Linked DNA regions of Homo sapiens: region 2 is linked to region 1. The links are contacts of gene promoters, found by promoter capture Hi-C in human tissues and cell types (Jung and others, 2019). All regions are on one chromosome and are shown on one strand. The core of a region is centred on a gene start or on the middle of the fragment in contact, and the rest is flanking DNA. Distances in the headings are between cores, read along the strand shown.

The links. Contacts are between HindIII fragments. The study calls those that stand out against the background at their distance.
Region 2: a fragment that was not itself captured here is called in contact with the fragment with the promoter of LRRC32 in region 1 in 1 of the 25 tissues and cell types used here (stomach).

What each region holds. Positions count from the first base shown.
Region 1 is chr11:76,668,918-76,672,993 of GRCh38, forward strand. It overlaps LRRC32 (leucine rich repeat containing 32), which reads right to left and starts at 1,830. Exons shown (of 3, transcript NM_001128922.2): 1 at 1,697-1,830. RefSeq lists silencers at 1,585-1,714, 1,775-1,974, 3,707-3,946. The HindIII fragment of the contact is 10,955 bases long and covers 1-4,076 here.
Region 2 is chr11:76,849,521-76,853,596 of GRCh38, forward strand. No RefSeq gene overlaps it. Among named protein-coding and RNA genes, the nearest start is that of ACER3, 9.4 kb to the right of the region's middle. The HindIII fragment of the contact is 4,177 bases long and covers 1-3,855 here.

The sequences.
Region 1 (4,076 bases), core at 580-3,079:
TGTGGGCCCTCCTCAGTGGTGCCCAAGTACAGGGTGTAGCATTTAAAGACTACTCTCTCTCAAAAAGGAGGACGGTGTCACTTAGACCCAGGCTTGCATCCAAAGCCCACCACTCACCAGCTCTGCTCCCTAAGGTAAGTCCCTTCCTTTCTTGGTGCCCCAGTGTCCTGTCTGCAGGGTAGGCAGCTGGGTTCCAGTTCTGCCACTGGCCAACCCCAACTATTGTGATGATCAGGCAAAGAATGGTGGCGAAGGTGCCCTGCATCCTCACTGTCCTTCCCAGCTGACACAGTGACCCTCGCAGGGCTGAGCATCCCAGGTGAGGTGTGCTCAGTGGGGAGGCCCCAAGCCTGCAGACAAGTGGCCTGGGCAAGAGGAGGCAGGAGAGTCGGACTCTCAGGAGTCCAACTCAGAAAAGTGCCAAAGAATGTGTGTGTGTGTGTGTGTGTGTGTGTGTGTGTGTGTGTGTGAGAGAGAGAGAGAGAGTGAGAGAGAAAGAGCAGGGGTACGGGGGGCAATGACTACTACCACAATAAGCCCACCCCTACATTTAAGGATGTTAGTCTTCTAAGCACTTGACCTATATCATCTCATTTAATTCTCACAATCACCTATTGAGGAAATTACTGTAATTCCCATTTTACGGATGAGAAAACAGTTTCCGGAAAGTGAAGTGACTTACCCCCAGAGTTACCCAGCTCATAAGGGCTTTGGAGCTGGGATTTATCCAGTTCTACATGACCTGAATACTGTGTTTTCTCCAGCACATGCTGAGCCGACTGCCCCCAATAGAACTGTCTTTTTTTTGCCCATGAAGAAAAGGAGGCTCAGAGAAGTGACTTACCCAAAGTCACACAAGGAGAAAATAGCAGGGTCACGATCAGAATCCAGTTCATCTGTCTCCAAAGCAAATGTTCCCACTATACCAAATCAAGGTCTCCTTCCCTAAGCCCTGCCAACGACCCCTCACACGCAGGAGCAGGGCAGACTAGCTCACAGTCTGGCCTCTGAGGTCCTCTCTCCCTCCTCTCGGCCTCAGCTGACTTACTGGCAGAGTGGGGTCCTGGGAGAGCTGCTGCGGACGTTCCTGTCAAGCAGTGAATCACTAAGGGCAAGCCTCGTTCTGGAGACATGTGCATCCCACGGGGGAATTAGACCTTAACCCAAAGGAATGTGGCTGTGATGGCGGAATTTCAGGCAGCTCGGCGTGGGGGTGGGGGCCCCTCACATCTTACCACCCATGAAGAAGGCTGGGTTCAGAGCCCCTTGGAGAGCGGTGGGTGCCCCCTACCCCACTACGAGAAATGGGCAGGCCATCTAGTGCTGTGGGATGGGCAGCCCCACGCCTGGCTGGGATCGGAGCGTTGCAGGAAACCTGAATTCAAATTCCGGTTTGCCCTTGCCTAGCTGTGTGTTCCTGGGCAAGTCACGGTCTTCAGGCCATTGTTTTCCCAGCTGTCAAATGGGAAGGCCGGCCTCACCCCTTTGCGGGAAAGATCCGCCAAGACAGGAGCGCTGGGGAACTCCCAGGGACCGAGGGAGGGTCAGCCCCGGCTCCACGCGCGCAGTGGGGATGGCGGGAGGGGAGTGTTTGGGGGGCGTCCCTTGGGACCAGCCCCCGCCTTGCGCTCGCTAGAGGCGCGCGACAGTGCGCCCCCCGAGGGCCGGCCAGCCTCGCCTGCCCGGCGGCTCCTACCTGGCTCAGCGCGGCCGCAGCTCCTCTCCCGGGCAGTCTCGGCACATTTTGCGCAAACCCGCCCCCGGGTCCCACCCCGCGCCAGACCCCGGGGTCACGGCCCGAGGAGGAGCAGGCCGCTCAGCTGCCCCACCGGAGCCCCCGCGCTCCGGCTGCAATTTAAATACCTCTCCCGCCGGCCCGCCCCGCCACGCCCCCCTCTGGCGAGGCCGTGGGGTCCTAGCGCCTGGCCCCGTGCCTCGGTTTATCCGGAGCCGGCGGGGGCGGAGTGGGGTGGGGCGGCGAAGCATCTTCACCACCCTGGGACCTCGGCCGGGAAGGGGCGGGGGCCCAGTGTGGGGGGATGAGAGGGCGGGAGGGAGAGGGGTTGCAGAGGAAGCGCCGTGGGAGCGAGGCCCATCCCAGCGGCCGCCGCACGTGCAGTTCGCGGCCCCGCGGGGTCCGGAGGGGGGCGCGGTGGCTCTAGGAGCCGCAGGTCCACAGAGGAAATCCGGCCTGGCCCCGATTTCCCAGCTGCTGGCGCCGCCGCACTTAACGCGGGGGCAAACAGGCGAGGTGACGGCGGGGCTGAATGCGGAAGGAAATGACCCTTCGCTGGCCCTGGGGCGGCCGCGGAGGGGGTTCCCCGCACCAAGCCGTCCACTCTGGTGGGTCCTGGCAGGTCACTTTTCCTCTCCGGATTGTGCTCTAGTGTCTGGACCCGTACTCCTCCATCATCTGCGGGACCCTTCAACAGCCTGTGAAACGGCACCATCAAAGTCCTGTTTTCGGATGGAGAAGCTGAGGCTAGGGGTGGGGGCAGTGTGTACACATGAAAACCAATTGTCTGAGACTAGTAAGGTCCCTATTTATAGCTGGGGAACCTGAGGCTCAGAAAAGGTTAAATGGCGTGTCCAAAGTCAACACAGCTAATAAGAATCAGTGATTTGAGCCCAATCTGTTCATAAAGCTAAGTCTGATTCAGTTTGGGCATTATCTTGCCCGAATTTTTAAAGTACTGTGCAAATATGGGGTGGCGGTATTGTCATTTAGATTGGAGGTTGAAGCAGATCTTTCCCAAAGCCACCTCTCTTCTAGATGCCTTGACCCTACCAAATCACAGGTACCCTGCCTTGCTGCCTGTGGACTCTAGTATGCGGGTCCCTAGAAGAGAGGGGCCCTGGCTGTCCTCCAGGTCCTGGTTCCAAGTGTAGAAGGGGCCTCTTCCACAGTGTTTCTCTTCCCTGATCGTCACCAGCCCTGAGAGTGGGGCAGGGTGCCCCATTTTACATGCATGAAAGTGACCACCCAGGGCCTTGTGGCAAATCAGGGTAAGGCTGGGCTCAGAAGCGGGATTCCCTGAAGTCTCTACAGTTACTGCCTTTTCTTACCCCTGTTCAGTCCACTGTGGAGATGGATCTGGGGAGATGGGGTCAACCCAGAGAGGACAAGCCATGATAGCAGGTGCCATAGGGGCCTGACCTAGTCTTAGAAGAGGAAATCAGGGAAGGCTTCCCTAAGGAGGAGGCCTGAGCTGCAGTGAGGGGATGGGCAGGAGGTGCAGGTAAGGAATCTCTCAGCAGGGCCTGCGAAGGGTATCCAAACCTCTTTCCCTTCCCTCCCAGCCACCCAAGGCCTCAGATCTATGTCCACAGGGTCCTAGCTGGTCCATCCAGCCCCCTCTCTGGTCTCTAGTGCTCCATTTGGTCAAATGGAACCTCAGTGCCCCTATCTGTAAAGTGGGAAAGATAGTAGCTACTACTTGGAGTTGGTGCTAGAACTAAGTGCAATGGATCCAGCTGGAGCCTGCACCCAGTGGTTGTTAGGCAACTTCTCACTGCCTTTATTGTGGCAGTTGGTGGATACTCCTATATCCTGTGGGCTTCCTTTTCCAGGTCCCTGTCCAAGGGGCCAAATGTTCAGGAAAGTGCTTTGAAGCTGCCCTGCAGTATGAGCAGAGTGACTGGATCATTCGGGCAGTTCCTGGCCTTGTGTATCAGACCAGCTCCCAGCCATCCAGACCCAGGCTCGCTGAGCACTGCCTCACCCTTCCCGGAGCTGCTACCAAGCAGAAATCACTGGGCCATGGCAGAGCTTCTGCTAGGGCCCAGGAGGGCGGGGCTGGGGCTATGGTGGGCTGGGGGTGAGTGCCCCACCTCCCACTCCCCCGCCCCCAGAGGCTGTGGTTGTGGTTAGTCAGCTCGTGGGGTTCCACCTTACTCAGTGCCCGGATGGGGCTCCCCCACATTTGAGGCAGATGGGCAACCAAGCGTGCCCACCTGCTGCAGATGCCTCTGGGGACCAGGGGCTAAAAGCCGGGAAGCCCACAGGCTCAGCGCCCCTTCCTTCATCTCTTCACTTCTTTGGCAGTCATGTTGTTGTGTGACTTTTGGCAGGTTGC
Region 2 (4,076 bases), core at 517-3,016, 180 kb after region 1:
ACTGCCTGAGAAAAACAAACCCTTCTTTGGTTAAGGCACTGGAACTAATTTTCTGTCGCCTGCAGCAAAACATGATCCTAACTGATTGAAGAGCCGAAGCTGTGGAAACTGATCTGGGTTAGAGATAGAGATTTGGGTCAGCCTCTAGACTGTAACAGTGCTAGGGTAGATACAAGAAAACCAGACATCCACCTATGCACAGATAGAAATTATGAGTTAAAGAAAAGAGAGGGCTTGGCTTATAGGCAATGCGGAAAGGAAGGAATTCCTGTTCACAGGGCAAGCATCTTTAGGGTACTTTAAAAATTGTTGATGTTTCCATAACCTCATTCAAAACAAAACAATCAAATTAGAGCTATTCAATTAATACTCAACTTCATCAAATTTATTTTGTAACAGCTTTCCAGGTGGAAACAGGCTGTTGACTCTGTTCGTGTGTGTGGTGACTTACCTCCCAGGGTGTGGCGTATTTTGGGCTCAGGAGCTCACTTGGTAAACTTCAGCTCTTCTCTATCTTCCACCAAGCAAGGAACTCTGAAGTTCTCTCCTGGAAATTTGGGACAAGGACTGTCCAGGACCTATGTTGCAGTTTAATCTGACTGTCCTATCCTTTGCCAAGATTATTTGCCACAGCCTTCTAACTGATTTTCCTGATCCCTCGCCTCCTCCTTACCCTGCCCTACTACAAAAAATCCCCACATCAAAAACTTATTTCTTCTAACACGTGGATTTAAACATGTTATTCCCTTTCTTGAACACTAAGATAAACCCTAAATGCGTTATCACAGCATATTGGGCCCCACCCTTTGCATCTCTAGTCTCTGATATTTGTCCTCACTCCTCCCTCATGTCTGCACACAAGTTCAGCCACTCCGAATGTCTCATTCTGCCTGTTTTTCTCTTGCCCTTTCAAGCCCTTACAGTCTGTTTCTTGCCCAGAAATGCTTTCTCTGCCTTCTGCTCTGACCAACCACCCACAACAATCTACTACAGCCAGATTAATTTTCTGGTTTTCCTAGCAGCTAGGAATGGCTGGAAACCTACCACTTTCTTCTCCTTCAACCCTTCCCCACAGGTCTGTCTCCAATTCCTGTTGATTCTACCCTCTAAACATCGGTGAATTTGTCCTCTCCTCTCCATCACTATTGCTACTCACCCTATCACTGCAATAGTCTCTTCTGCAGGCTCCATGTCTTCAGTCTTTCCCAATTCAGTCAATCTGTCCTCCCTTCTGCATACATACCCATATCAAGATCTTACTTAAAACCCTGTAGGCCCTTGATGGCATTGTCCCTGCAGACCTCATAAGCCTCATTGCCTACACTTCAGCTAAAAAGTAAAACCAAACACAGTGCTGGCCTCTAAGGAGACCTCTAGTTCTCTCTGTCCAGCACAGCCCTTTCTTCCAAGCTCACACAGCCAGCTTGGCACAGCAGAGAAGAACATGGCCTCTGGCACCAGACTGCCTGGATTCCAGCCTAGGCTCAGCTGCTTATGATCTGGCTGCCATTGGGTGAAATACCTAACCTCACTGTGTCAGTTTCATCATCTGTAAACAAGGGCTAAAAGTAGTACTTAATTCACAGGATTGTTAGAAAGATTTTAAAAGGTAATCCCGGGCCGGGCGCAGTGTCTCACGCCTATAATCCCAGCATTTTGGGAGGTCGAGGCGAGTGGATCACCTGAGTTCAGGAGTTCCAGACCAAACTGTCCAATATGGCAAAACCTCATCTCTACTAAAAATACAAAACTTAGCCGGGCATGGTGGTGCACGCCTATAATCCCAGCTATTTGGGAGGCTGAGGCAGAAGAATTGCTTGAACCCGGAGACAGAGGTTGCAGTGAGCCAAGATCACACCATTGCACTCCAGCCTGGGCAACAGAGTGAGACTCAGTCTCAAGAAAACCCCATTTTGACCTTGGAGATTTGTCTGTTTTTCCTCTTCTAGTGCCCAGAATAGTGCCTGACACACAGCTGGGATTCCTTAAATATTTATTAGAAAGTGAATTTACTAACTTGCTTTGTGTGTTTTGTCATATTTCATTTATTACCAGGTCAAAATTGGGAATACTCTGTATTCCCAACACTAAGCTTGCTTGATAATAGATGTTCAATTCATTTTGCAGATTCCCATGTAAACTGGCTTTTACTTATTCAAGTTTTGCAAAGATGTAATGTAACTAGAGGAGACTCCAATCAGGAGAAAATGGGAGAGAACATAGGGGCACTGGCAGGAGACATGGCAGGTGGCCTGCGGCCGAGGTATAGAAGGTAATAGAAGAGGTCTGCAAGGGGAAATCCTGGGAGACAAGGGGCCCAGGAAGTCTAGCTTGCTCAAGGAGCTTGAAATTGACTTTTGTTCTGTGTAATCCAAGTTTCTTCTGAGTTTAGAAAATAAGTCTTATGAGAGAATCAGGCCTTATGAGAAAATCAGGCCCTAGCACTAACACTGCCTGGAGAGTGGGGCTTGGGGTCCAGCTGCTGGGGTCTAATGCCTTCCTGAGATCATCAGGATGGCATCAGAGTAGAGCCTCAAAGTCTGGAATTGGGAGTGATGGTTAGTCTAATAATGTTTCTGGAAGCATAAGCATCAGCAGGTACATACAACATTTATTTTTCAATACTTATCACGCATTTTAAGTAAAAACAGAAAGCTCCAAAATGATTTGTATTTTATAACTATTTTAATAAAACATGTATATGTATGAAAAATATCTGGCTAGTTATACACCAAAATATTATCAGTGTTTACTAAATGATGAAATTCCAGGTGATTCTTGATTCCTTTTTCTTTCTTTCTTTTTTCTTTTTGAGATGGAGTCTTGCTCTGTTGCCCAGGCTGGAGTGCAGTGGTGCGATCTCGGTTCACTGAAACCTCCACCTCCCGGGTTCAAGTGATCCTCTGCCTCAGCCTCCCGAGTAGCTGGGATTACAGGAGCCCACCACCACGCCTGGCTAATTTTTGTATTTTTAGTAGAGATGGGGTTTCACCATGTTTGCCAGGCTGGTCTTGAACTCCTGACCTCAGATGGTCCACCCGCCTCGGCCTCCCGAAGTGCTGAGATTACAAGCATGAGCCACTGCTCTTTGAAAGAGCTGCTTCCTCTTTCTCTCTTTCTTTCTTTCTTTCTCTTTTTCTCTCTCTCTCTCTTTTTCTTTCTCTCTTTCTTTCTTTTTGACAGGATCTTGCTCTTGCTCTGTTGCCCAGGCTGGAGTGCAGTCGTGTGATTATAGCTCATTGCAGCCTCGAACACCCAGTCTCAAGATGTCCTCCCACCTCATTCTCTCAAGTAGCTAGAAGTATAAGCCTGTGCCACCACACCTGACTGATTTTTAATTGTTTTGTAGAGGTGGGGTTTTACTATGTTGCCCAGGCTGATTTTGAACTCCTGGCCTCAAGCAATTGTCTCACCTTTGCCTCCCAAAGCACAGAGATTACAGGAATCAGCCACTGTGCCCAGCCTCAGGTGATTCTTTATATATTTTTTCATTGTGGATTTTTTTTTGAATAAATATATTTTCAGTGTGAAATATAATTTAATTGTGAAAATGTAAATTGGTACAACCTTTGCATTATCTACTAATTTGAAAATGTGCAAACGTTCATTCATAGGTAACATGCTAAAGGTAATATGCTTGTACGTGTGTCAGAAGGTATGTAAAAATAAACATCAGGATAGCAGTGGTTATAATAGCAAAGGTGAAAAACAACTTCATATTCATCTTAGGAGAATTGATAAATACATTGTGGTATTGTGATACGAAAGAAGGCCATAAAAGAGTAAAACTTGACCAAGCGTAGTGGTTCACACCTGTAATCCCAACACTCTGGAGGCTGAGGTGGATCACTTGAGGCCAGAAGTTTGAGACCACCCTGGGCAACATAGCCAGACCCTGTCTCTACAAAAAAATTAAAAAATAAAAACTAGTGAGGCATGATGATGCGCCTGTAGTCCTAGCTACTCAGGAGACTGAGGCGAGAGGATCCCTTGCGCCAGGAGTTCAAGGTTACAGTGAGTTATAATGTGCCACTGCACTCTAGCCTGGGGGACAGAGCGAGACCCCATCTCTAAAA